7 separate regions of the Homo sapiens genome follow, and all the other regions are linked to region 1. The links are contacts of gene promoters, found by promoter capture Hi-C in human tissues and cell types (Jung and others, 2019). All regions are on one chromosome and are shown on one strand. The core of a region is centred on a gene start or on the middle of the fragment in contact, and the rest is flanking DNA. Distances in the headings are between cores, read along the strand shown.

Region 1 (3,816 bases), core at 619-3,118:
GCTTGCAACCACGAGGCAACTACAAATATGTTGCAATTTTTTGAGCTAAAACCCCTAAGTTTGTAGTCTTTTCAATAAATGGTTGGTGGGGGATAGTAGTCATTTGGTATCCTAAAAAAGGACTGTGAGTTGTAGCATCTCCTGGGAAGAGCAGGATAGGGAGGAAAAGGGGAGAGGAATGAGAAAGGAAGAAGGATTGAGAGTTCAGGGGAAAGAAAGGGTGAGGAGGCAAGGAGAGAGAGAACTAAAAAAAAGAAATGGAGGCATAAGGAGGCCACATGGGGAGTAGGGAGGGAGTAACAGGCAGGGAAGACAGAGGAGGAGAGAGGAGTAGATATGGGCTTGCCTAGGAAGGGGTGGGGTGATGAGTGAAGAGAAGTCTAAAGGAGCCAAAAGGGGTGGAGAGAGATAAGGAGGAGGGCAAAGCGAAGGAGAGGAGGGGTAAGGAGGAGAGGAAATTAAGGGAACAAGGAAAATGGGTGTTTCTTTTCTTTTGTGTCCATGGGCTGAATATAACTGAAGACATTTCATTGTATATCTACCCCTCCCCTCATACACACATTTACATGTATTAGCTATGAGGACAACAAATACATTTGATATTACAAACAAAAACCAAATTTTCATGCAGTGTCCTTTGCAAAATCTATATGTTTAAATGTAACCATGTTTAGTTATGTGCAATAAAAATTGTCTAATAATTTCTCCTAGCTATCTTTACATTTAGCACTTAAATATTTATTTCTATGGAAGTTTGTATTCCAATTTGTTCAGCATTTTCATGACTATGGTAAATAAAAGAATATTTTCACATAAATAATGAGACAAATGTGTTTTTAGGGGAAATTAGAATATGAAAAACATTACATGCAATTATTAGAAAATATAGCAAAACAGCTTTCTGAAGTCAAACAGTACTAGTATCTTTACCTTGTTTGCAGCAAAGTCAAACCTCCTGTTGAAACATTTTAAAAAATATTTTCTTCATTAATGCGAATGTGGTTAAAACGTAGAATATGTGGAAAATATTAGTCCCTTAATATCAAGCTACTAGAAAAGATGAATTAATCAATCATTCTTGAAACAAAATAAAAACAGGAATAATAAAATATTTTAGCAGTTTGATCCCTTTGAAGAATGTTTATAGGTATCTTGTAGCCATTTTACAGAAATATATTCAATGATTCTGATAATGCGTAGAATCTTCCTTTAGACTGTTCTTAATCCATGATATTTGAAAGGCATTCTTATTCAGAAAACAATGCTCAATATTCTAACCTTACAAAGAATCCAGCAGACAAAGAGGAACATAAAATTATTGCAAGAGACCAATAACTTCCAGACTGCCTGGGGAAGTATTCCAAGATGTTAACAATCCAGGAGGGAAAAATTTTAAAGCCATTTTTAAAAGTTTCCAGTGCCTTTAACATGAAAACAAGTTAGTACAAGAACATCTTATCTTAACCACAGAACTCTTAAAAACACACATAACGCGATTATTTTTCAAGTAATGTAAAAAGCACAGCCATGGTCAGTTCAACGTTTCACAATCTGGAGCTTATAGAGGAAATTATCTTGAATCAGGCAACTGATTTTCCCCTTTACACCCCTCTTTGTGAGGAGAAGAAAGACAAAAATCCCATAAAGTTTCTTGAAATCAGTACCTACTCACCTTCCTGTTGTGCCAAAATAATAGTGGGATGAAGCAGAGCGAGAAGTAGCCAGCTCCCCTTTTGCACAAAGCTCATCATGTCTAAATATCAGACATGAGACTCTTTGTGCAAAAAGGAGAAAAGAAAAGCAGTTCAAAGTAGCACCATCAAGTTGTTCCCTGCCCTTCAGCACCGGGCCCGTCATAAAACTCAGCCACTGAGATTCCTTTGCTTTGGCCTTAAATAGGAAAAAGTTTGGCTTCCCTCACTTTCCAGCCCCTTTCTGAAATATGAGAGCCGCACCCATCCCCTCAGCAGTAAAAGAAATGATAAATATTTCTTTTTCCCTTATAGAAGACACAACCCACAGTAAGAAAAAGAGCACATCTGGAGTTTGTATGCATCTGCTTATGTAAAAGTTTTTTTACATATTTCACTCTTACATATATGTTTGTATAACTTAGGAACGTATAGAAATGCTCTGCCTTGTTTTAATACATACAATGTAAATGCATACATTTTTATTTCCCCTTATGAAGTTAACAACTGCATAATTTTGAAAAACTGCTTGATGCCCATTTATCTAGTATGTCTAATTTACAGAACTGATCTTCCTAGAAGATTTTTATGTTGGGATTTTGCCAGAAGTAATCCTAACTCAATTTAAATAGGAGACTGTAAGAGACTCACGGAAAGAAATGCCACCGTATGCCCCTTCGACTCATCCACCCACCCTGGGTCCTAGAAGTTAAGTTTCAGGCAAATATCAAAAGACAAAGTATTTCAGCAATGTTTGAATGGCTTCCTAAAAGTTAGATACTTATCTATAGCTGTTTCCATTTCTCACAAATTTCTTTAGCAAGCCAGAGTGCTTTCTTGTGAGATTTCCAATTTTTATGCTGCCTGGGAAAGACAGAGCAGATTTTTCTAGAGAAAAATTCAGCCTTTTCATGACATAACTTTTTAGGAAACTGGAAGAGAAAGAGTTTATCACATAGAATAGCAAAAGAGTACCAGAGAAAGTGGTCATTTTTTCTGCATTACTCTAAAGATTAGTATAAATATTTCTAATTTAGACTTTTATGTGTATACTTTCCAGATCCTCATCCACAAAACTTTCCAATGTATTTCTGGATCTATCTAAGCAGTAATTTTTGTGTCATATTTGAAAGAGGGGCAAATACCATTTATAGGTCTTTGATAAATCTCTGCAGGAAAAATATGCTTGTCCACAGTATAAGGCTATATCTGGCAATGGAGATATCTCTTTACACCCTAATCATCAGTTCATAGTTAGTTCATCTATCTCTATAATCTACGGTGGACATTTCAATTCTAATCAAGGTCACTTGAACTAATTTTCTTCACCTTCACCTAAACATGTCCGTCTCTATGCCTGTGCACATAAAATTCTCCCCATTTCACACCAATTAATGGAAGTCACTTCCTTATGCCTCAATGCAAAACTTTCCTCCTTAAGTAAATTACCTCCTTTAAACTAATTTTCATCTTTCTCTTTCTTCTAATTTGTGTTACTAAATTTTCACTCAACTCATGTCATATGTATATTCCCAGGTGTACATGAATCCTGTAAGCATGGACAGTGGCAAACTTGCTTTCTTGTTTCTTGCATCTTTTTTTTTTTTTTTTTTGCGACGGGGTCGCCCTCTCTCGCCCAGGCTAGACTGCAGTGGCGCAATCTCGGCTCACGGCAAGCTCCGCCTCCCGGGTTCACGCCATTCTCCTGCCTCAGCCTCCCGAGTAGCTGGGACTACAGGCGCCCGCCACTACGCCTGGTTAATTTTTTGTATTTTTAGTAGAGACGGGGTTTCACCGTGTTAGTCAGGATGGTCTTGATGTCCTGACCTCGTGATCCGCCCGCCTCGGCCTCCCAAGCTTTCTTATATCTTCAGTCACAAGGACACAAACCAAGACATCTCAATGTAGATGACATCATTTGATGACAGGAAAGGAAAACTAGAACGAGACCAACCTCTTGTGTATCTTTATTTTAGATTGGAGAGTCACTGCTTGGGGGCGTGGGAGAAAAGTAACTGTTGAGAATGGTCATGAATATAAGCTTTTCTACTGGATCACAGTAGAGATGCTGGGGAAAGGCTGTTATATGCATCTTTCTGTCTTTCAGACATCTTTGTCCTGTACA
Region 2 (3,951 bases), core at 692-3,191, 380 kb before region 1:
AGTAAACTGGAAATCAATAATGGAAGTAATATTGGAAACTATAAATTCATAAAAATTAAATAACATACTTCTAATAATGAATGGGTCAATGAAGAAATAAAAAAAGAAATTAAAAATTTCCTAGAGAAAAATGAAAATGGAAACACAACATACCAAAACCTATGGGATACAGCAAAAGCAGTTCTAGGAGGGGAGTTTTGTTTTTGTTTTTGCTTGAAACTGCTATTTACTGGTTGAAATATAATGTTGTTAAGATAGGCAAAATCCTAATTAAAATTTTAACTAAACAAAATTTTAAAAATGTATCCTATTTGCCATAAATTTTTCTAGGTGCTGAGCATACAGTAGTGAATATTACTGACAAATATCCTTAAGACAGGAGTTCTTAGCAATAAACACCTATATCAAAAAGTAGAAAGGCTGAATAAACAACCTAATGATGCACCTCAAGCAAATAGAAAAGTAAGAACAAACCAAACATAAAAGTAGTAGAAGGAAATAAATAATAAAGATTAGAGCAAAAATAAATGAAATGGAGACTTAAAAAAGATCAATGAAACAAAAGTTGGTGTTTTGAAAAGATAAACAAAATTGACAAATCTTTAGCTAGACTAAGCAAAAAGAGAGAAGACTCACATAAAATCTGAGATCAAAAAGAAGACGTTACAACTGATAACACAGAAATACAAGGGATTATTAGAGACTACTATGGTAACTATATGCCAACAAATTGTAAAACCTACTAACAAATAGATAAATTCCTGGACATATAGAACCTACCAAGATTGAACCATGAAAAAAATAGAAATCCTGTTTAGACCAATAATGTATAACATGATTAAAACAGTAATAAAAAGTCTCCCATCAAAGAAAAGCCCAGGACCTGATGGCTTCACTACTGAATCTATAAAAGATTTAAATAAGAGCCAACACCAATTCTACTCAAACTATTCCAAAAAGTTGAAGAGGCGGGAATACTTCTATTCTCATTCTATGAAGCTAACATTACCCTGATATCAAAACCAGACAAGGACGCACCAAAAACGAAAGCTACAGGCCAGTATCCCTGAGAAGCAGAAATGCGAAAATCAACAAAATACTAACAAATTGAATTCAACAGCATTTAAAAGGATTATTCACTATGATCAAGGGAGATTTATCCTTGGGATGCAAGGGTGATTCAAATGTGCATATCAATAAATGTGATACACCATACTAACGGAATGAAGGACAAAAATCAAACAATCATCTCAGTAGATGCAGAAAAGGCATTTGACAAAATTCAACATCTGCTTATGATAAAAACTCTCAGCAAATTAGATATAGAAGAAGTATACCTCAACAAAATAAAGACCATATTTGTATGACAGATCCACAGCTAATATCATACTCAATGGTGAAAAATTGAAAGCTTTTTCTCCAAGATCAGGAACAAGACAAGGATGTCCACTCTTGTCACTTCTACTCATCATAATAATAGAATTTCTAGCAAAAGCAATCAGTAAAAAGAGAAAAAATGGTATTCAAATTGGGAAAGGAGAAGTTAAATAGTCCCTGTTTGCACACTACTTGATCTTATATATAGGAAATCCTAACCACTCCACCAAAAACACTGTTAGAATTGATAGACAAATTTAGCAAAATTGCAGGTTACAAAACCAACATAAAAATATTAGTAGTGCTTCTACACATCAATAGCAAACAATCTGAAAAAAAAAATCAAGAAGGCAATCACTTTTATAATAGCTACAAAAAGTACCTAGGAATAAATTTAATCAAAGAAGTGAAAGATCTTTATACAAAACTATAAAATACTGATGAAAGAAATTGAAGAGAAGACGCACACAATAAAATGGAAAGTATCACTTTCTTATGGCTTAGAAGACTTAATATTTTTAAAATGTTCACACTATCCAAAGCAATCTACAGATTCATTGTAATATTTGTCAAAACACCTAAGATGTTCTTCACAGAAGTAGAAAAAAATTCCTAAAATTTATATGGAACCACAGAAGACTCCAAATAGCCAAAGCAACTATGAGCAAAAAGAACAAAGCTGGGGGCATCACACTACTTAATTTCAAAATATCCTACAAGGCTATAGCAACCCAAACAGCATGAAAATGTCATAAATACAGCAGCTATAGCCTTATGAAATGTATTTCTTAAAATCAATACTTGAAAATCAGAATTATTCCTTGATCCATGGGCTGCAAAATAAATGTTTTGTTAGCAGGCATGAAAACAACAGTAATCTCTTTTTACATCTCCATCAGAGTTCTCAGTTGACTAGGAGCATTGTAAATGAGCACTAATATTTTGAAGTGATTTTTTTTTTTCTGAGCAGTAGGTATCAACAATGGGCTTAAAATATTCAGTAAATTGGATCTGCTGACCATATGGCCAAACAGGAACAGCTCCAGTCTGCAGCTCCCAGCGAGATCGACATAGAAGGTGGGTGATTTCTAAATTTCCAACTGAGGTACCCGGTTTATCTCATTGGGACTGGTTGGACAGTGGGTGCAGCCCACAGAGGGTGAGCTGAAGCAGGGTGGGGTGTCACCTCACCTGGGAGGTGCAAGGGGTCATGGGCTTTCCCTCCCCTAGCCAAGGGAAGCCGTGAGGGGCTGTGCCATGAGGAACAGTGCACTCTGGCCCAGATACTGCATTTTTCCCCACAGTCTTCACAACCCACAGACCAGGAGATTCCCTCTGGTGCCTATGCCACCAGGGTCCTGGGTTTCAAGCACAAAACTGGGGAGCCCTTTGGGCAGACACTGAGCAGCTGCAGGAGTTTTTTTTTTTTTTTTTCATACCCGAGTGGCACCTGGAATGCCAGTGAGACAGAACCGTTCACTCCCTGGGAAAGGGGGCTGAAGCCAGGGAGCAAAGTGGTCTGGCTCAGCAGTTCCCACCCCCATGAGCCCAGCAAGCTAAGATCCACTGGCTTGAAATTCTTGCTGCCAGCACAGCAGTCTGTGGTTGACCTGGAACACTTGAGCTTGGTAGGGGGAGGGGTGTCCACCATTGCTGAGGCTTGAGTAGGCGGTTTTACCCTCACAGTGTAAACAAAGCCACTGGGAAGTTTGAATTTGGTGGAGCCCACCACAGCTCAGCAAGGCCGCTGCAGCCAGACTGCCTCTCTAGATTCCTCCTGAAAAAAAGGCAGTAGCCCCAGTCAGGAACTTATAGATAAAACCCCCATCTCCCTGAGACAGAGCACCTGGGGGAAGGGGCATCTGTGGGTGTAGCTTCAGCAGACTTAAACGTCCCTGCCTGACGGCTCTGAAGAAAGCAGTGGATCTCCCAGCACAGCATTCGAGTTCTGATAAGGGTCAGAGTGGCTCCTCAAGTGGGCCCCTGACCTCTGTGTATCCTGACTGGGAAACACCTCCCAGTAGGGGCCGACAGACATCTCCTACAGGAGAGCTCTGGCTGGCATCTGGTCGATGGCCCTCTGGGACAAAGCTTCCAGAGGAAGGAACAGATAGCAATCTCTGCTGTTCTGCAGCCTCTGCTGGTGATACCCAGGCAAACAGGGTCTGGAGTGGACCTCCAGCACACTCCAGCAGACCTGCAGCAGAGGGGCATGTAAGAAGGAAAACTAACAAACAGAAAGGAATAGCATCAACATCAACAAAAAGGACATCCACTCAGAGGCCCCATCTGAAGGTCACCAACATCAAAGACCAAAGGTAGATAAATCCACGAAGATGGAGAGAAACCAGTGCAAAAAGGCTGAAAATTCCGAAAACCAGAATGCCTCTTCTCCTCCAAAGGATCACAACTCCTCGCCAGCAAGGGAACAAAACTGAATGGAGAATGAGTTTGATGAATTGACAGAAGTAGGCTTCAGAAGGTGGGTAATAACAAACTCCTCCGAGTTAAAGGAGCATGTTCTAACCCAATGCAAGGAAGCTAAGAACTTTGAAAAAAGGTTAGATGAATTGC
Region 3 (3,651 bases), core at 1,125-3,624, 410 kb after region 1:
TGGGAATTCAATATAAAATAGTTAAAAAAAAAAAACTGTGCAGGGGATCAGGAACGAAAAATTATGGGAACACGGTGAAAGCAGTTCCAATCAGTCAGTGTGGGTGAAATTTAATGGCAGGGCTTCTAAATTTGTTTGACGATATGCAAGTTTCCCTGTACTTACATCACACAAATGTAAAACAACAAGCTTAGTTTACTCACTCTTTTTTGTAACCCTGCGATCTGTTTTCTTGTTTCAACATCTTTTCCTCCTGATTCTAGAAATTTCCTGTATGCCAGGTCAAATGCTTGGCCAATTGTTAAAGTGATCTCTTCAGCCTGTGTAAAAATCAAACAAAGATTTGCATTTTAATAATATGTCAAACTGTTTTTGAATCGAGAAAACAACATTCATATAAGCACTTACTCCAAGACATTCACAAGAGGTACTTCAAAAGGGCAACAGTTGGGAGTAGAGATGTATTAAATGAGCAAGGTAGTAGGCTAATGTAATAACTCAACACCTACCCAGGCACAACATTGAAAAAACAAGCGGACTTGGGGGTGGGTATTACTGAATAGCTGTTGAAGTGGGAAAGTTGGAAGCAAGAGTTCTTTATGTCAAACTTCTCATCTCTTTTATTGTATTGTTTTTTCCTACTTGTTTTTCTCCCTTTCTCAAATATTTAGTGCCTATGAAATGAAAGCAGAGTGCCAAATGTAGTTTCTCTCCTTGCTTTGCTATTTATTTCCTTTTCCTTGTGAGGAGGGTTTGTTAAACCCTAAGCAGGTAACTTGAATGAGGCTGGCCAGGTGGTGTCTCTGGAAAACTTGAGGTATGCCCTCTAAATGGAACACCTGCTACTCTGTCCCAGTTAATTGTTGCCTGGTGGAAGTGAGCAATTCCAATCTGAAACTGTCAGATCTTATGTATGAAAGATGAGGCCAGAAGTCTGAAATTTTATATGAGAGCTCCCAATTTTAAGCGATGGTAAACAGTTTGTATTTTGGTAAAACACAGTGCCAGTGATCAAAATATATATGTCATCTGAATTTGGGCTTGTAAACAACTTACAATCTCAGATCTATTGATTTGAAACTGCCACAAATATATCTTACATCCACAAGCTCATTTCTTCTCCATTCATATCTCCACTGAATTCATAATGTCTTGCACATAGTAAAGACTAAAGATTTATTTACTTAATCAACATTATAAAGAATTTTGGTAAAGGCATCAATAAGATTTAATGTTGTCACAATTATGTCATATTTAGTAAGACCTCCAGATAACAAGAAGACTAGTAGTAATATATATTGAAAATGCTATGCTTTAACTCTACTACAAATTCTAATAATTTATTATCTACTGTGATCAACATAAAATGAAAACATGCTTTGTTAATCATCTTATATCATTTAATAGAATTTTTATAGTTCATTATTTAAGGAGGGTTTTAGACAAAAATATAGTATTTAACCTAGTTAACTAAAAAATGCAAAATATGTACATAATATTTTAAAGGAAGACTGTTTTACAAAAGAAAAGAAAAAAGACAAGAAAGTAAACAACGAGCTATAATAAAAACTACCAAATAAATGAAAATGACAGATACCAATGTATGCATGTTCATTGACTTAAACTAATTGGTTGTGTTAGATATTAAGATTATTTGTAATATTAAAGAAGTGGTTTTGATAGATTGTGGGATTATGAATAATTTGTTTTCTGTTTCTCATTTCAAAACTTTGGGTAATAGGTTTCTGTTTATTTTACAATAAAAAGACGTTTTTCTTCTTCTTTTTAAAAATTTCTTCCAAAACAAAATGGGATACATGTGCAGAATGTGCAGGTTAGTTATACAGTATACGTGTGCCATGGTGGTTTGCTGCACCTATTGACCCATCCTCTAAGTTCCCTCCCCTCGCCTCCCACCCCCTAATGGGTCCTGGTGTGTGTTGTTCCCCTCTCTGTGTCCATGTGTTCTCATTGTTCAACTCCCACTTCTGGGTGAGAACATGTGGTGTTTGGTTTTCTGTTCCTGTGTTAGTTTGCTAAGGATGATAGCTTCCAGCTTCATCCATGTCCCTGCAAAGGACATTATCTCATTCCTTTTTATGGCTGCAGAGTATTCCATGGGATATGGGATATATGTACCACCTTTTCTTTATCCAATCTATCATTGATGGGCATTTGGGTTGGTTCCAAGTCTTTGCTATTGGAAATAGTGCTGCAATAAACATACGCGTGCATTTGTCTTTATAGTAGCATGATTTGTATTCCTTTGGGTATATACCCAGTAATGAGATCTCTGGGTCAAATGGTAGTTCTAGTTCTAGATCCTTGAGGAATCGCCACACTGTCTTCCACAATAACTGAACTAATTTACATCCCCACCAACAGTGTAAAAACATTTATATTTCTCCACAGCCTTGCCAGCATCTATTTTTTCCTGACTTTTTAATAATCACCCTTCTGACTGGTGTGAGATGGTACCTCATTGTGGTTTTGATTTGCATTTCTCTGATGATCAGTGATGTTGAGTTTTTTTTTCATATGCTTCTTGGCTGCATAAATGTCTTCTTTTGAGAAGTGTCTCTTCATATCCTTTGCCCGCTTTGTGATGGGGTTGTTTTTTTCTTATAAATAAGTTTAAGTTCCTTGCAAATTCTGGATATTAGACCTTTGTCAGATGGTTGGATTTTTAATTATAGGTTGCTTCCCTTCTAAATTATGATTTCGATGTATCCTTCCCCTTTTTTTTTTTTTTTTTTTTTTTTTTGAGATGGAGTCTCACTCAGCTACCCAGGCTGGAGTGCAGTGGCGCAATCTCAGCTCACTGCAACCTCCACTCCCGAGTTCAAGAGATTCTCCTGTCTCAGCTTCCTGAGTAGCTGGGACTACAGGCACGCACCACCACACCCAGCTAATTTTTTTTATTTTTATAGAGACTGGGTTTCACCACGTTAGCCAGGCTGGTCTTGAACTCCTGACCACAGGTGATCCACCCGCCTTGGCCTCCCAAAGTGTCGATGTATCCTTTTAACGAGACATTATGTTATCTTTAAATACTCAATTTGTACATTATAAAGAATCATTTAAATGGTAACATTATTAATTATTCATTAATGACATTTGGCCTCATATTATTTATTTATATTAATAACTTTAAAAAACCATGTTCTCATTTTATAATAACATCTTTACTAGGCACTTAGCTGTCTAGTAAATATTCTGCATATATTATCTTACTTGATTCTCATCATGGCTCTGAAGTAAGGATTATTATTACCCCACAATACATATGATGAAACTGCAATTTTGTAAAGTTGTATAACTTGCCTAAAGCTAGTGAATGGAGAAACTGAATTTAAATCCAGATTTCTGACTCTCCAACCATCACATTTTTGGAGGTGGGGGGTAAAATTTATATACAATGAAATGCACAGATCATGATAAATTTATGAATCATATAAGATATATAATCTCCAACTTATTAAAAATAAAGAATATTTCTAGCCCACCAGAATGTCTCTTATGCCTACTTTCAGTCAAATCTCATCTATTATGGGTGACGATTCTTCAATTTTTATCATTATAAATCAGTTTTGCCTGTCCTTGATATCTATAAAAATAGACTAATATGTATTATTTTGTGTCTGTATTCTT
Region 4 (3,570 bases), core at 333-2,832, 340 kb after region 1:
CCATTTAGGTCTCACAGAAATGCTTTCTCCTCTTTCTTACCCAAAATTCTCACATCAAAAAGCAGTACTATCTTAATCCTGTGAAGATCTGTGGGCTCTGCTGCTGTCAATCCATGATTAAAAGTACTTATGAGTGTGAAGAGGATTTGAGTAGTAAAAACACTTCACTAAGAGAAAAGGCAACTTAGTCAATTTATTACATTCTTCTTCTCAGATGACATTAATAAATAGTGTTTCAGTGTTGTCAAGGTAGAAGGAAAAACATAATTTAAAGTTTGCCAACTTGATTTATAATTTTAAACCTTTAAAGCTATGGTATGTGGGCCTCCATTTGTACCCCTAACCTGGGTTTATACATATTAAATGATAAGATATAATAAATGAAACTTAGAACGAATTCTGGCATATTTACATAACATTTAGTAGTAAGCAGGCACAAAAGTGTCATATAATCTGTTCTATCATTAGCAGTGGTGAATCCAACAGGTCTGTAGCAAACATGATTCTTGCCTCCTTGGAGGAAAAATTTCAGCTGAGAGGCACAAGACAGAAGGAAAGACCAAGGCAAGTTTTAGAGCAGGAGTGAACATTTTTTTTCAAGTTTTTGAGTAGGAACAAAAGGAAGTAAAGTAAACTTGGAAGAGAGTCAAGCAGATGACTTGAGAGATCCAAGTACCCAGTCAGACCCTTGACATGGAGTTTTTACACATTGGAATGGTTCCAGGGTTTGTGTGTCTCCTCCCTTGAGTTTTCCTTGGGGCAGGCAGGATGCACGCACAGTGGCCTGCCAGCACTTAGGAGGCGCTACGTGTGAAATGTGTATGTGTTTACTGAAGTTGTGCACATGCTCATTTGAGGTATTTTTTCCCTTACCAGTCCAGTGTTCCTAAAGGAAGTTCATATACCAGTTAAACTCTGCCATTTTGCCTCTTAGTGTACATGCTGAGGCTGCTCACCCAACTCCTGAGATCTTATTAGGAAGCCGCTGATAACCAGCATCAGGTGTTTTCCACCTACTGAGAGTTTGCCTTTCCCTAGTGCCAGCTTCGACCAATTATTGTTTTAGACAGACAGTTTAACAACCCGCTGACCATCACGTGATGGTCACCTGACATTCCTGGGGAGGGGGTACCATCTCCTGCCCTGCTCATGTCTGCTTAGCTACCCACTCTAACACTATGAACTGGTGAGTTCTGAGGTTTAGGCATTCCAGGAAGGACCTACATGAAAAGCTCGTCTGAGGCATATTCGATACTACCTTAGTGTCAGGATTCTGTTAATCTAATCAGAGTCAGGGCAGAATTATCTATAGGTGGCCTTGCACAAGACCAGTACAAATTCCAAGCCTAGGATATTATCCAGCCAGGTCCTTTCTTCCATTAATACAAGAGCTGAGCTGCCTATTTTGTCTAGGCCATCAAGGACTTCTACCATTCCTTATGAAAAATAATCAACTCTCTAAGGCAGATTAAAGTAGAATTATTTAAAGCTCCTCTCTGTTAACTTTCTCTGGTGTGTGAATTCTTAATTCAGGTATTTAAAATGCTAACTATCTAACCCTGAATTATATATTCTTGATTGGGGTACTTGTCCTAGTGTATAGATTAAAACTTACACACATAGCATTGTATACATTGAAACACTATAATGGAAATTAAATGTAGTATAATGCACTGTTATGGAAGGTCTTGCCCTGGTTTTGCTGAAAGTTCTATGGGAGAACTGGGGCCTGGAAGCCTAGAGCAGGCACAAAGCTTTATGCCTCCTTTCTCATTCCACGGTCCCCTTCCCATTCTGTCATAGGCTTTTCAGGTCTAGAACAGTTCATGGAGAATCTGGGTAGGAATGTCAACCAGGAGCCATCTGTAAAGCTATCAAAATTGGCTGCCTTTATGTCAACATCAGACTGCTAACATATGTGACCTTTAAGATCCATTTGTGCTTGCTCTCAGCAGGATTGTAAAGATGTTCTTAACATTCAAGAATGGAATGAATGCTGACTTTTAACCTTCTTTACTCTCCCCCAGTTGAAGCTGAGAAAAAGTTTTTACAATTTGAATGTCAGGCTTTTTCTTTTCTTTCTTTTTTTTTTTGTTGAGACAGATTAAGGAGAAACAGAGCTTTAGAACTACTTTCTCTTCCAAGGCCTCCAGGAGTTTGGCTGACAGCCCTAATGCCCACAGCAAGTCAAAAAGAATAACTGCACATTTGGTTCTTTGCAGAGCCCATTACCTTTAGGTCCCCTGCCCTTCCTCCAGGGGTTTTCTTGGCTAGGACTTAAACAAAGGATTGTGAAAGAAATATCAACCCAGTGAGCTTTTTCTAAACTTCCCACACCCCTTTCCATTTATAGCCAATGCCCTCTGAGCAGAGCAAGGCCATATAGAGCAGAGCCTATGCCAGACTTCAAGACAGCAGCACTTCTGCATGAGATGCAATGAACAAAGAAAGAGGAAATTTTATCTTCTAGTTCACTGGCCTGGCTTGGCTTTTACAGTGCAGCATTCTCAAGTAAAGTATCTAAAACACTCCAAAAAAAAAGAGCATCCTGTGCTTTTTCTAACATTTCCCATCTACACTCTGCTTTCCTAAACCTAGATGTCATAAACTGTGGAGAGAAGTATAAAAGGGATTCATTCAAGACCTGTCCCCAGGGGTCCCGTCACAATTCTGTGCCATGTGCTTGTAATCAGCAGTCGCTCCAGAGAATGAAGACTCAGATCCCTTGGATTCTTCTGCCTGGCCTTTTAGAAGCCCACTGGTCTATGCCCTGCCCTTCGCTGAAGGCACCTCAAGCTTATTGAAATGTTGGCCAGCCATGACTTTTAACCACTCCCAGAATTCTTTGTTACAGGATTACTCACATCCCTGAGGCCATGGATGGAATAACTGATCTGTAAACAAAAGGGAAACAACTGCCAACTCCTGGATCCAATAATAAGGATTACACTGTGGAACCTTGGGGATTGTGAGACTCTTAAATACTAAATTCCATAGTCAGGAATGGGGAATGCCCCAATTTGGGGCTTTTTGGTGTCTCCATCATGGGTTGTGTGCCGTGTTTCTTGTTCCTGATGTTTTATTATGTCAACCACAAAAAAAAAAAAAAAAAAAAAAAACCCAAAAAACATTGCATGCCTCTGCAGTAGTCATCCTTCCTTTATTTTCATCCTTCCCTCTCAGATTTTCCCAGGCTTCTGGCTGATTCTGCAAGAGAAGGCTAGAGCCTGGAGGTTTCCCATATCAAGAACATTTTCAGAATCCTTAGCACTGGGACTTTAAGGATTCAAAACAAATGGATGTCCCTTGAGATAAATGGCTCCATCCCCCCATTTCTTTTCTGCCTTGGCCCTTAAGGGGCAATATAGACCACATAGCTTAAATGAGGCAAAATAGAAATAATCACCTATTTTAAATGGAGAACATACATATATATCTCATGAGGAAACTGAATGATTAAGCCTCCCCATGTTATCTAGGAACTAGATAATGTTTTTTTGTTTTCTGCAAGTGATTCTGAGTAACTGGTACTAGGACGTAAGTTTCCTTGTGAAACAAGACAAGGTAGTT
Region 5 (3,867 bases), core at 1,040-3,539, 330 kb after region 1:
ATAAATATACCACAAGATAGACACTGATCTCTTTTTATAGCATAACTTTGAAATTCCGTGCTGTTAATCCTGGTGTTAGTTTTTAATATCTGAATTATGATTCCTTAAAAAGTCTCATTGTTTTAAACTCTTTGTTGACATTAAACTATGATCTGTTCATCTGTGGAATGACACTTTTCTGCCATAATTTTGCATTTGAATCCACAGCAAACAATTTTTAAAATATTTCCAAACATTTTGAGGAAGCACTTGACATGTAAATGTATGCTTCCAAACACCAGTCCCATCTTAAATTCAATAGATCAAGAATCTTAAATTTATTTGCCTTGATAATCTACATAAATATATAAAACGGAGGTGCACAAAGCCTACTTTTTTGTCAAAGCAAATCAAATATGCACTCCACATTTAATATTCTTCCAATGACTTAAATATAATGTAGAGGCAGGGCACGGCGGCTCATGCCTGTAATCCCAGCACTTTGGGAAGCCGAGGTGGGTGGATCATGAGGTTAGGAGATCGAGACCATCCTGGCTAACATGGTGAAACCCCATCTCTACTAAAAAAAAAAAAATACAAAAAATTACCCAGGCGTAGTGGCGGGCGACTGTAGTCCCACCTACTTGGGAGGCTGAGGCAGGAGAATGGCGTGAACCCGGGAGGCAGAGCTTGCAGTGAGCCGAGATGCGCCACTGCACTCCAGCCTGGGCGAAAGAGAGAGACTCCGTCTCAAAAAATAAATAAATAAAATGTGGAAAGAAGCACATACAGAACATAACCTTTATGTATAGTTACAATTTAAGAATGATGGCGGATTGAAGATATGTTTTGTCTAAAAAAATTAGTTGTTCAACCAATGGCAGTAATCACAAATTTCTCCTTGCTATTTTTTTTCCTCATAAGTGCTATGACCAACTTAAATTAAGGTACTTAAATAGCTACCTAAATACCTAAACAAGCTACCTACATAAACAGTGCTTTATGTATATGAATCTCATCATATGGAAAAAGCATAGCTGGCACAATATCTTTTTATCAGTCAGATTAGCAAGAAGTAATAGAATGTGTTTAGTACCTTTTCCATTCAAATCTGTTCTTCAACTTAAATATAATTATTTTATTGACAATTACTAATACATGGCTCACTGATTCCCAAGCATTATACTAAGTGAGATCTCATAATTATTCTATTAGGTAGGCACCGATATGTCACCTCCATTTCACAATGAGGAAACCAAGACAATGAAGAAACTGAGGTTAGAAAACTTGGCAAAATGATATAGCTATTAAGAAGAAAAGGCAGGACTCTGACCTAGACAGTCTGCTTTCAGAGTCTATTCTCCAAATTACTACTCTGTATTATCCATTTCTACCATCATTTTCTTTTCGTATTTCACATTTTTAAAAAAATAACATTGTCAATTTGTCATTTATAACTACATTAAGTGAACATTAAAAGCATGGTATCATTAAATAAAAATGTATCTTTTGGCTCCATAAATGTCTTCTTTTGAGAAGTGTCTGTTCATGTCCTTCACCCACTTGTTGATGGGGTTGTTTTTTTCTTGTAAATTTGTTGGAGTTCATTGTAGATTCTGGATATTAGCCCTTTGTCAGATGAGTAGACTGCAAAAATTTTCTCCCATTCTGTAGGTTGCCTGTTCAATCTGATGGTAGTTTCTTTTGCTGTGCAGAAGCTCTTTAGTTTAATTAGATCCCATTTGTCAATTGTGGCTTTTGTTGCCATTGCTTTTGGTGTTTTAGACATGAAGTCCTTGCCCATGCCTATGTCCTGAATGGTATTGCCTAGGTTTTCTTCTAGGGTTTTTATGGTTTTAGGTCTAACATTTAAATCTTTAATCCATCTTGAATTAATTTTAGTATAAGGTGTAAGGAAGGGATCCAGTTTCAGCTTTCCACATATGGCTAGCCAGTTTTCCCAGTACCATTTATTAAATAGGGAATCCTTTCCCCATTTCCTGTTTTTGTCAGGTTTGTCAAAGATCAGATAGTTGTAGATATGTGGCATTATTTCTGAGGGCTCTGTTCTGTTCCATTGGTCTATATATCTGTTTTGGTACCAGTACCATGCTGTTTTGGTTACTGTAAAGGCTCATCATCCCTGGCCATCAGAGAAATGCAAATCAAAACCACAATGAGATACCATCTCACACCAGTTAGAATGGCGATCATTAAAAAGTCAGGAAACAACAGGTGCTGGAGAGAATGTGGAGAAATAGGAACACTTTTACACTGTTGGTGGGACTGTAAACTAGTTCAACCATTGTGGAAGTCAGTGTGGCAATTCCTCAGGGATCTAGAACTAGAAATACCATTTGACCCAGCCATCTCATTACTGGGTATATACCCAAAGGATTATAAATCATGCTGCTGTAAGACACATGCACACGTATGTTTATTGCGGCACTATTCACTATTCACAATAGCAAAGACTTGGAACCAACCCAGATGTCCAACAATGATAGACTGGATTAAGAAAATGTGGCACATACACACCATGTAATACTATGCAGCCATAAGAAATGATGAGTTCGTGTCCTTTGTAGAGACATGGATGAAGCTGGAAACCATCATTCTCAGCAAACTATCGCAAGGACAAAAAATCAAACCCCGCATGTTCTCACTCATAGGTGGGAACTGAACAATGAGAACACATGGACACAGGAAGGGGAACATCACACACCGGGGCCTGTTGTGGGGTGGGGGGAGGGGGGAGGGATAGCATTAGCAGATATACCTAATGTTAAATGACGAGTTAATGGGTGCAGCACACCAACATGGCACATGTATGTATATGTAACAAACCTGCACGTTGTGCACATGTACCCTAAAAATTAAAATATATATTAAAAAAATAACAATGTAAGCAATCATTTTGAACTATACAAGCTTTTAATAAGCAGCTTTGCATATACTATTTTTTAATTTGCTAACTTATTTTTCTTTTCTGCCATAAACAAAGAGTCATTTCCGGTATAGTCTTTCTTTACCAAGGTTAATCTCATATTTGTTGGCACCCCTCTTGTATTATTACTTCCTCTACACTATCCTCCCCTGCTTTACTTGTTTTCAAACAATTGTTGTCTTTCCATTATGGGTAAGGCTTTATACCACAATAGATTTTCTTGCTACTAAAGTATTTGAGATCATCAGGATGACTGAATTCACGACCACTTGATGAAATACTCTTGAGGGTTAAAGGAATCTTATTAATTATGACTCCCATTAAAACATATATAGAATAGACTCTCTTGAAAATCTAAATTTATGTTTACTCTAGACATGTAAGATGAGCCTTGAAATAAATACGTCTGATAGACTAAGATGGTAGAGAAGTGTGTTAATCACAAGCTGTAGAGTCATTAAAAGAAGAAAAGCCTAATGTGTGTTTAGGGAAAGTGTAAGAAGCTTAGGACAGCTGGGATAGAGACTCCCAATTCCATGGAAATACATAATAAAGCTACAGAGTGGTTATTCATAGTTTAGAAGACTGTGATCACCAGATTAAGGAATTTGACCTTAATTTAGTAGAAGGTGCAGGGTCATCCAGTGTTTCAGGGCAAGAAATGGTGAACAAAAACATAATGAACCAAAGCTTAAACAAGATTAATCTAATTGGTGATTATAGCTGATGGATCATGGCAAGCAGTTTGAAGATGGATGAGACGCCTCAAGTGTGAAGTAATAAGCTTCATACTTTGTCAAGGGTTTTTTTTTTTTTTTCTTTTTAAGTATGTGCTATAATGAAAAGATTTGATCTGACTGTTTGAGAAATCCAATACTGGAAAATTTAGTGAAACTTAAAAACTTTAGTGATGGATTTCCTGGCAACAATAATTTTTTTCC
Region 6 (3,559 bases), core at 282-2,781, 360 kb after region 1:
TCCTCAACAAAATACTAGGAAACTTCAAGAAAGGATTCCAGGAAAAAAATAATTTAAAAAAACATACTAGAAAAAAACAACAAAAATATTAGAAAAACAAATCTAATCAGCACATGAAAATGATTAGACACCATGATCAAGTAGGATTCATGCCGGAATGCAAGGGTGGTCAAATATACACAAATCAATAAATATGATACATTGCATCAACAGAATGAAGGACAAAAGTTATATCACCATCTCAATAAACACAGAAAAAGTATTTGATAAAATTCAATATCCCTTCATGGTAAAAACTCTCACAAATTAGGCATAAAAGGAACATACCTAAAAATAGTAAAGGCCATATGCAGAAAACCTATAACTAATATCATATGGATGGGGAAAAATTGAAATCTTTGCCTGTAAAAACTGGAACAAGACATAGATGTCCACTTTCATCACTCTTATTGAATATAATACAGAAAGTACTAGCCAGTGAAATTCCAATTTAGAAATTTTCCTAAATTGGAAAATAGGAAGCAAAAATGTTTCTGTTTGAGATAATGTGATCTTATACAGGAAAAAACCTAAAGACTTCACACACAAAAAAAATCTTAAAACTGATGGATAAATTCACTAAAATTGCAGGATACAAAATCAATATGCAAAAATTAGTAGTTTTTTCAATATACCAATAATGAACTATCTGAAGAAAAAATTAAGAAAGCCATCACCATTTATAAAAGCTAGAAAAATTAAAATATCAAGGCATAAATTTAATCAAGGAGTTCAAAACACCTGTACAATAAAAACTAAAAAATACTGATTAAAATAATTGAAGAGGACGCTAAAAAAACGGAAACACATCTTATGTCCATGGAATGGAAGAAGTAATATTGCTAAAATGGCTATAAAACTTAAAGCAATCTACAGATTCAATGCAATTCCTATCAAAACACCAATGCCATTATTCACAAAAATAGAGAAAAAATTAAATTTGTGTAGAACTCCAGAAGATCTCAAATAGTCAAAGTGATGCTGAGCAAAAAGAACAAAGAGAAATCAACTGCCTGACTTCAAAATATACCAAATCTATAGTAATCAAAATAGCATGGTACTGGTATAAAAGCAGACACATTGGTCAATAGAACAGAATATTAATTCTGTTCCACTCTGAGTTCAGATAGAAAACCATATATAAATCTACATATATTCAGCTAAGTGATTTTAACAAAGCTATCAAGAACATTTTATTGGGGAAATGACAGTTTCTTCAATAAATGGTGCCGGGAAAGCTGAATGTCTATATTTGGAAGAATGAAATTAGACCATTATCTCTCACCACAAATAACCGTAAACACAAAATAGGTTAAAGAAAATTAAATATAAGATGAGAAACTGTGAAAGTATTAGCAGAAAACTTAGAAGAAAAACTCAATAACATTGGTCTGGGCAAATATTTTTATAAATAAGTTACTGAAAGCACAGGCAACAAAAGTGAAAATGGATACATGGGATTATATCTAAGTAAAAAGCTTCCACACAGCAAAGGAAACAATCAACAGAATGAATCAACAATCCAAATAACAATTGGCCAATTGATCTGCATAGACATTCCTCAAAAGAATCATACAAATGGCCAAATAGTATATTTTAAAATGCTTAACATCACGGAAATACAAATCAAAACCAACACAATGAGATATCATCTCACTCCAGTTAGAATGGTAATTATCAAAAGGACAAAACACAACAAATGCAGAGAAAAGGGAACTGTTATACACTGCTAGTGCAAATGTCAATTAGTACAGTCACTATGGAAAACTGTATGGAGGTTGCTCAAAAAAAACTAAAAACACAACTACCATATGATCCAGCAATCTTACTGCTAGGTATGTATCCAAAGGAATAGAAATCAAATAGATATCTGCACTCCCATGTTCATTGCAGCATTATTCACAATAGCCAAGATATGAAATCAAACTAAGTGTCTATCAGAAGATGAATGAATAAAGTACAGTATATATACACAATGGAATAAAATTAATCCACAAAAAAGAATGAAATCTTGTCATTTGGGCAACATGGATAAGCCAGGAGGACATTATATTAAATGAATTCAGACAGGCACAGAAAGATAAATACCACATGTTTTCACTTATATGTGGATGTTTAAAAAATTGATCTCATAGAATTAGAGAACAGAGTAGTGGTTACTAGAGACTGGGACTGGTAGTAGTTAATGAATACAAAATTACAGCTAGACAGGAGTAAGTTCTAGTGTTCTATGACACTGTAGTATAACTATAATTAATAATATATCATATATTTTCAAAAGCTAGAGGAATTTTGAATGTTCCCAACACAAAGAAATGACAAATTTTTTTAGATGACACATATGCTAATTACCTGATTTGATTATTACCCATTGTATACATTTATCGAAATATCCTCTACTGCATAAGTACAATTATTATGTATCAATTAAAAATTATAAAAAAGAAAGAAATTGTAGGTTTTAGAAGGAAGAATTTATTGATATGGGATTGCTCTTCTGTGGTCCATATATTTTGTTACTTAGACAATTTCACCATGCCAATGAGATAGTTTTTAGAAGCTTCAAGAAAGTGATGGCCTTTTCCAGGAAAATATACAATCAAAGAACATTTGTAATAGACAGTGAAAGAAGATACAAGGATCAGAGAAGTGCTACTAAAGCAGATAAAGCATGTAAGCCCCCAAAATTCAACAGCTATGTTCCTTAGAATCACCGAGAGGATACCCCATTTACTAAAGTGATAGAAAATATGGTATTACAGATAACAATGAAAATAATAGGACCTCCAAACAGAGGTCAAGTAGAGGCAGTTAGCCATCAAATGTAAAGCACTGCATTATCATAAAGAGCAACAAAGTTGGCCTCTTAGGCAGATGTTCTTGACAGGTAAAAGCTATGGAAATGATCAACAAAACATGGCATCCCTATGGTCAATGTAAATGGTTAACCAAAAAGAGTCTTGCTCAGTCTACAAATATGGTCTATGGTCAGCCAGAAAAAGTACTGCCGAATCTATAGCTATCAATATAGTTTTACTCAATCAAGAGAAATCGAGGATAGATAATCAGCTTCTCCAATAAAAATTTATAACCTCTTAACCAGCATCAAGAATTGAGCAAGTTTTTAGAACCAGAGCCGATTGACTGAAGGAAGGGTCAATTCCTCAGGAATAAAGACTCTGTGACACCACACGTTATATATATATAGTGATATTACTTGACTTTTTCCAAAAGTATTTGCTATGGTTTGAAAATCTGTCCCCTCTTAAACTCATATTGAGACTTAATCTCTAATGTAATGGTATTAATATGTGTGGCCTTTAAGTGTTGATTGGGTCATAAGGTCCCTGCCCACATGAATGGATTAATCTATTCATGGATTATTAGATTAATGGATTGATGGGTATTATGGGATTAGGTTAGTTATCACAAGAGTGGGTCTGTCATAAAAGCCAATTTTGCTTTTAGTCAGCCTCCTTGCCATTAGATGCCCTGTTCCAGCTTGGAACTAACTCTACTA
Region 7 (3,916 bases), core at 913-3,412, 420 kb after region 1:
TACCAATGATGTAGCTGAGAAGGAAAGCAAGAAGGCAATCTCATTTACAATAGCGCAATAAGTATACACATGCATATATATACGTATATATATAGAGAGAGATAAACACATATATGTATATACATATATAGGAATAAATATATATATATATGAATAAATTTAACCAAGGAGGTAAAAGTTCTCTATAAGGAGAGAACTATTTATTGACTGATAAAAGAAATAGTCAATGACACAAACAAATAGAAAAATATCCTATATTCATGGATCATAAGAAATAATATCATTTAAATGACTACCATCCAAAGCAACCTGTAGATTCAATGCAATGCCTATCAAAATACTGACATCATTCATCACAGAATAAGAAACGGCAAACTTAAAGCAATTCTGAGCAAAAAGAGCCAAGCTGGAGGCATCACATTACCCGACTTCAAAATATACAAGGTAACAGTAACCAAAGCAGTATGGTATTGGTATAAAAACAGACACACAGAATAATGGAATAGAATAAAGAACTCAGAAATAAAACCACTTATTTACAGTCAACTGAGGTTTGACAAAGCCAAAAAGAAGTTACACTGGAGAAAGAACATCCTCTTCAATTAATGGTGCTGGGAAAATTGAATTGAATAGAATGAAACTGGACCCCTATCACCATATATAAAAATCAACTCAAAGTGGCCTAAAAACTTAAATGTAATATCTGGAACTGTAAAAATATTAAAAGAAAATCTAAGGAAAACTACTGAACATTGGGCTAGGCAGAGAATTTATGACTAAGATCTCAAAAGTACTGGCAACACAAACAAAAATGGACAAATGGTACTTAATTACACTAAAAAGCATCTACACAGAAAAATAAATAATCAACAGAATGAAGAAACAACTTTTGAATTGGAGAAAATATTTTCGGATTATTCATCTGACAGAGGACTAACTTCCAGAATATACAAGGAACTCAAACAACTTAGAAAAAAAAAATGTTCCCATTTAAAAAAAAATGGGAAAGAACATGAATAGACATTTCCCGGAGGAAGACACACATTCAGCCAGCAAGTATATTAAAACATGCTCAATATTATAATCATCACAGAATGCAAACCAAAACCACAATGTTATCATCTTAACCCAGTCAGAATGGCTATTGTCAAAAAGACAAAAGATAACAGAGGTTGGCGAGGATGTGGAGAAAAAGGAACTTTTATGCACTATTGGTGGAAATGTAAACTACTAAAGCTACTACGGAAAACAGTATGAAGATTTCAAAAAAAAACCTGCAAATATACTTATCATTTGATCTAGCAGCTCCACTACTGGGTATCCATCCAAATGAAAAGAAATCAATATATCAAAGGGATTCCTGCACTGAGATGTTTATTTCAGCACTATTCACAATAGCAAACATATGGAATCAACCTAAATGTCCGCCAATGGATAAATGGATGAAGAAAATGTGGTGTATATATGCATAATGAAATATTATTTGGCCATAAAAGTAATGATATCATATCATTTGCAGCAACATGGATGGAACTGGAGGTCATTATCTTAAGTGAAATAAATAAGGCACAAAAAGACAAATATTGCATGCTCTTATTTACATGTGAAAGCAAAGTATTTCATCACATGGAGGTAGAGAGTAGAAAGATGGATAACAGAGCCTGAGAAGAATAAATGGGGAAAGGAGGATGAAGAGAAGTGGGTTAATGGGTACAAACATACAGTTAGAGAGAAGGAATAAATTCAATGTTTGATAGTAGAGTAAGGTGACTATAGTTAATATAAATGTATTGTACTCAGGTGATGCCCTCCCTAAATGCCTTGACTTGATCACTACATATTATATCCATGTAACAATGTTTCACATCTACTCCATAAATTTGTTCAAATAAAAGAAAGTTTGTCTTAAAAAATCACATACAAAAGAACCTCAGACAAATTAACTAAAAAATTAGTTTTCTAGTTTACAGCTGGTCACTCCTGCTTGTTGTCATAATAAGCCAATTCTTCAGAGTTTTTAAACTCAGGGACTTGATATGTAAATTATAGTATTTCATGAAATGGAGACATGAAAATTGGTATTGGCAGGAAATACTCAGCAACAATAAGCTTCCAGATTCTAATTTTAAACTAATTACATTAAGTTGGATGGCTAATCTAAGAAATTAGCTCTCCCTCAATCATGTAATGAAATAAAAAAAACATTAATTTTTTATTTTGATAAATGTGATTCAAAAATTATTAACACAAAGCAAACGTGAAATATGGCTATAATAAGAATATGCAGTAAACACCTTCTCACAGACAGACCTTGTAAAACGACTGGATGCAGTGATTCCTTCTAGTACTAATAATGTATGATTCTTTTGACAATGAACCCTTTTTACGGAGAATTAATTAAGATGTAAAAATGAAGTTTTAAACTTTGCCTTATTTTACAGTTCCTTTCACATCATTAAAAAATGTGTGTGTGATAATTTCATTTGTTTATTGGGGCTACTCTTTAAATTATATTAAAAGCAGCATTCAGCAAATAAGGTATATTTATTAACATTTGGAAATGAAATTGTGAAAAATAAAGAAAATCAAAATAATGGTTAAACAGTTGACAGCAATTATATTTAATTTATAATAAAAATCAACCATATCACAATAAATTCTCTGTTCTAGTTTTGTAGTATGCTAAGGTAAGCCTTCCTCTAAGTTCAAATTCTGTTTCTATCTAGCTTGTCACTCTAGGAAAGAAACTAATTCTTTTTGGCCTGCATTTACTTAAAATAAGACAAAAGGTTTGGTCCAAATAGGCCATACTTTATTTTTCAGATATTTAAAGTAAACTTTATTTTCAGATAATTTAGATTTACACTCAGCTGTGAGAAATAATACAGAGAGATCTTGTGTATCCTTTGTCCAGGTTATTCTAATGATAATATATTGCAAAACTATAGTACCAATTGCAATCAGGATATTCATAATATAGTCAGAATACAGAATAATTTGATTACGACAAGAGTCCTTCATCTTGCTGTTTTATAAGCACATCCTCTTCTAGCCTGCCCTCACCATCTCCTTAACCTCTGGCAATCACTAATTGTTCTCCATTTCCTTAATTTTGCTATTTTAAGAATGTTATAGAAATGGAATCATAGAGTACACAGGCTTTTGAGATAGACTTTTTGCATTCCTTAATCTCTGGAGAGTCATCCACATTGTTGTGTGTCTAATAGTTCATGCCTTTTTATTGCTAAGTAATGTCCCTTCACACATTTTCTGGATGGATTGTAGTTTTCGGCTATTATGAATAAGCTTCTATAAATATTTGTGTATAGGTTTTTGTGTGAACATTTTAAGTTTTGATTTCTCTGGGATAAATGTCCAAGTATTTCATAGGACAGCTGCATGTTCAGTTTCTTATAAAACTGCCAAACTGTTTTTCCTGAATGGCCATACCATTTTATATCTCCATCAGCTATGTGTGAATGATGTACTTTTTCCCCATTCTTACCAGCATTTGGTGATTTTATTGTAGCCTGTCTGATAATTCTGTAGTAATATCTTATTTTGATTTTAATTTGCATTTCCCTAATGGACACCAATGTTTGACATCTTTTCACGTGCTTACTTTCCATCTGTATATCCTCTTCAATGAAATGCATCTTGTTGTCTTTTGTTCATGTTCTAATTTCATTGTTTTCATATTGTTGAGTGTTGAATGATTTTTTACTAGTTATTTGTCTGATATGTGGTTTGCTAATACTTTCTCCCCGTCTTTTCATCCCTAATTTGATAAGGAGCATCTAAACAAAATACAGATATTTTACTTTATGATAAAAAAAGAATGCTTTCCTAAGACATGGAACAAAGCACTTATACATAGAAAAATGTTTTCAAAAGTTCAGTATATCATTTTCCCCCA

The links. Contacts are between HindIII fragments. The study calls those that stand out against the background at their distance.
Region 2: a contact is called between a fragment that was not itself captured here and the fragment with the promoter of COL3A1 in region 1, in 2 of the 25 tissues and cell types used here (aorta and mesenchymal stem cells).
Region 3: a contact is called between a fragment that was not itself captured here and the fragment with the promoter of COL3A1 in region 1, in 1 of the 25 tissues and cell types used here (aorta).
Region 4: a contact is called between a fragment that was not itself captured here and the fragment with the promoter of COL3A1 in region 1, in 1 of the 25 tissues and cell types used here (mesenchymal stem cells).
Region 5: a fragment that was not itself captured here is called in contact with the fragment with the promoter of COL3A1 in region 1 in 1 of the 25 tissues and cell types used here (aorta).
Region 6: a fragment that was not itself captured here is called in contact with the fragment with the promoter of COL3A1 in region 1 in 1 of the 25 tissues and cell types used here (psoas muscle).
Region 7: a fragment that was not itself captured here is called in contact with the fragment with the promoter of COL3A1 in region 1 in 2 of the 25 tissues and cell types used here (aorta and mesenchymal stem cells).

Annotation. Positions count from the first base shown.
Region 1 is chr2:188,972,425-188,976,240 of GRCh38, reverse strand. COL3A1 (collagen type III alpha 1 chain) reads right to left here and starts at 1,868. Exons shown (of 51, transcript NM_000090.4): 1 at 1,673-1,868. The coding sequence starts at 1,751. The region is part of intron 1 of LOC105373791 (a long non-coding RNA gene); the gene reads left to right. The HindIII fragment of the contact is 6,513 bases long and covers 1-3,816 here.
Region 2 is chr2:189,356,624-189,360,574 of GRCh38, reverse strand. It overlaps a transcript of COL5A2 not described here. Among named protein-coding and RNA genes, the nearest start is that of WDR75, 83 kb to the left of the region's middle. The HindIII fragment of the contact is 4,125 bases long and covers 1-3,951 here.
Region 3 is chr2:188,565,908-188,569,558 of GRCh38, reverse strand. GULP1 (GULP PTB domain containing engulfment adaptor 1) reads right to left here. Exons shown (of 12, transcript NM_016315.4): 8 at 204-320. Among named protein-coding and RNA genes, the nearest start is that of DIRC1, 220 kb to the left of the region's middle. The HindIII fragment of the contact is 4,888 bases long and covers 1-3,651 here.
Region 4 is chr2:188,628,783-188,632,352 of GRCh38, reverse strand. No RefSeq gene overlaps it. Among named protein-coding and RNA genes, the nearest start is that of DIRC1, 160 kb to the left of the region's middle. The HindIII fragment of the contact is 4,693 bases long and covers 1-3,570 here.
Region 5 is chr2:188,647,606-188,651,472 of GRCh38, reverse strand. No RefSeq gene overlaps it. Among named protein-coding and RNA genes, the nearest start is that of DIRC1, 140 kb to the left of the region's middle. The HindIII fragment of the contact is 4,565 bases long and covers 7-3,867 here.
Region 6 is chr2:188,611,846-188,615,404 of GRCh38, reverse strand. No RefSeq gene overlaps it. Among named protein-coding and RNA genes, the nearest start is that of DIRC1, 180 kb to the left of the region's middle. The HindIII fragment of the contact is 3,960 bases long and covers 1-3,511 here.
Region 7 is chr2:188,549,088-188,553,003 of GRCh38, reverse strand. The region is part of intron 7 of GULP1 (GULP PTB domain containing engulfment adaptor 1); the gene reads right to left. Among named protein-coding and RNA genes, the nearest start is that of DIRC1, 240 kb to the left of the region's middle. The HindIII fragment of the contact is 7,041 bases long and covers 1-3,916 here.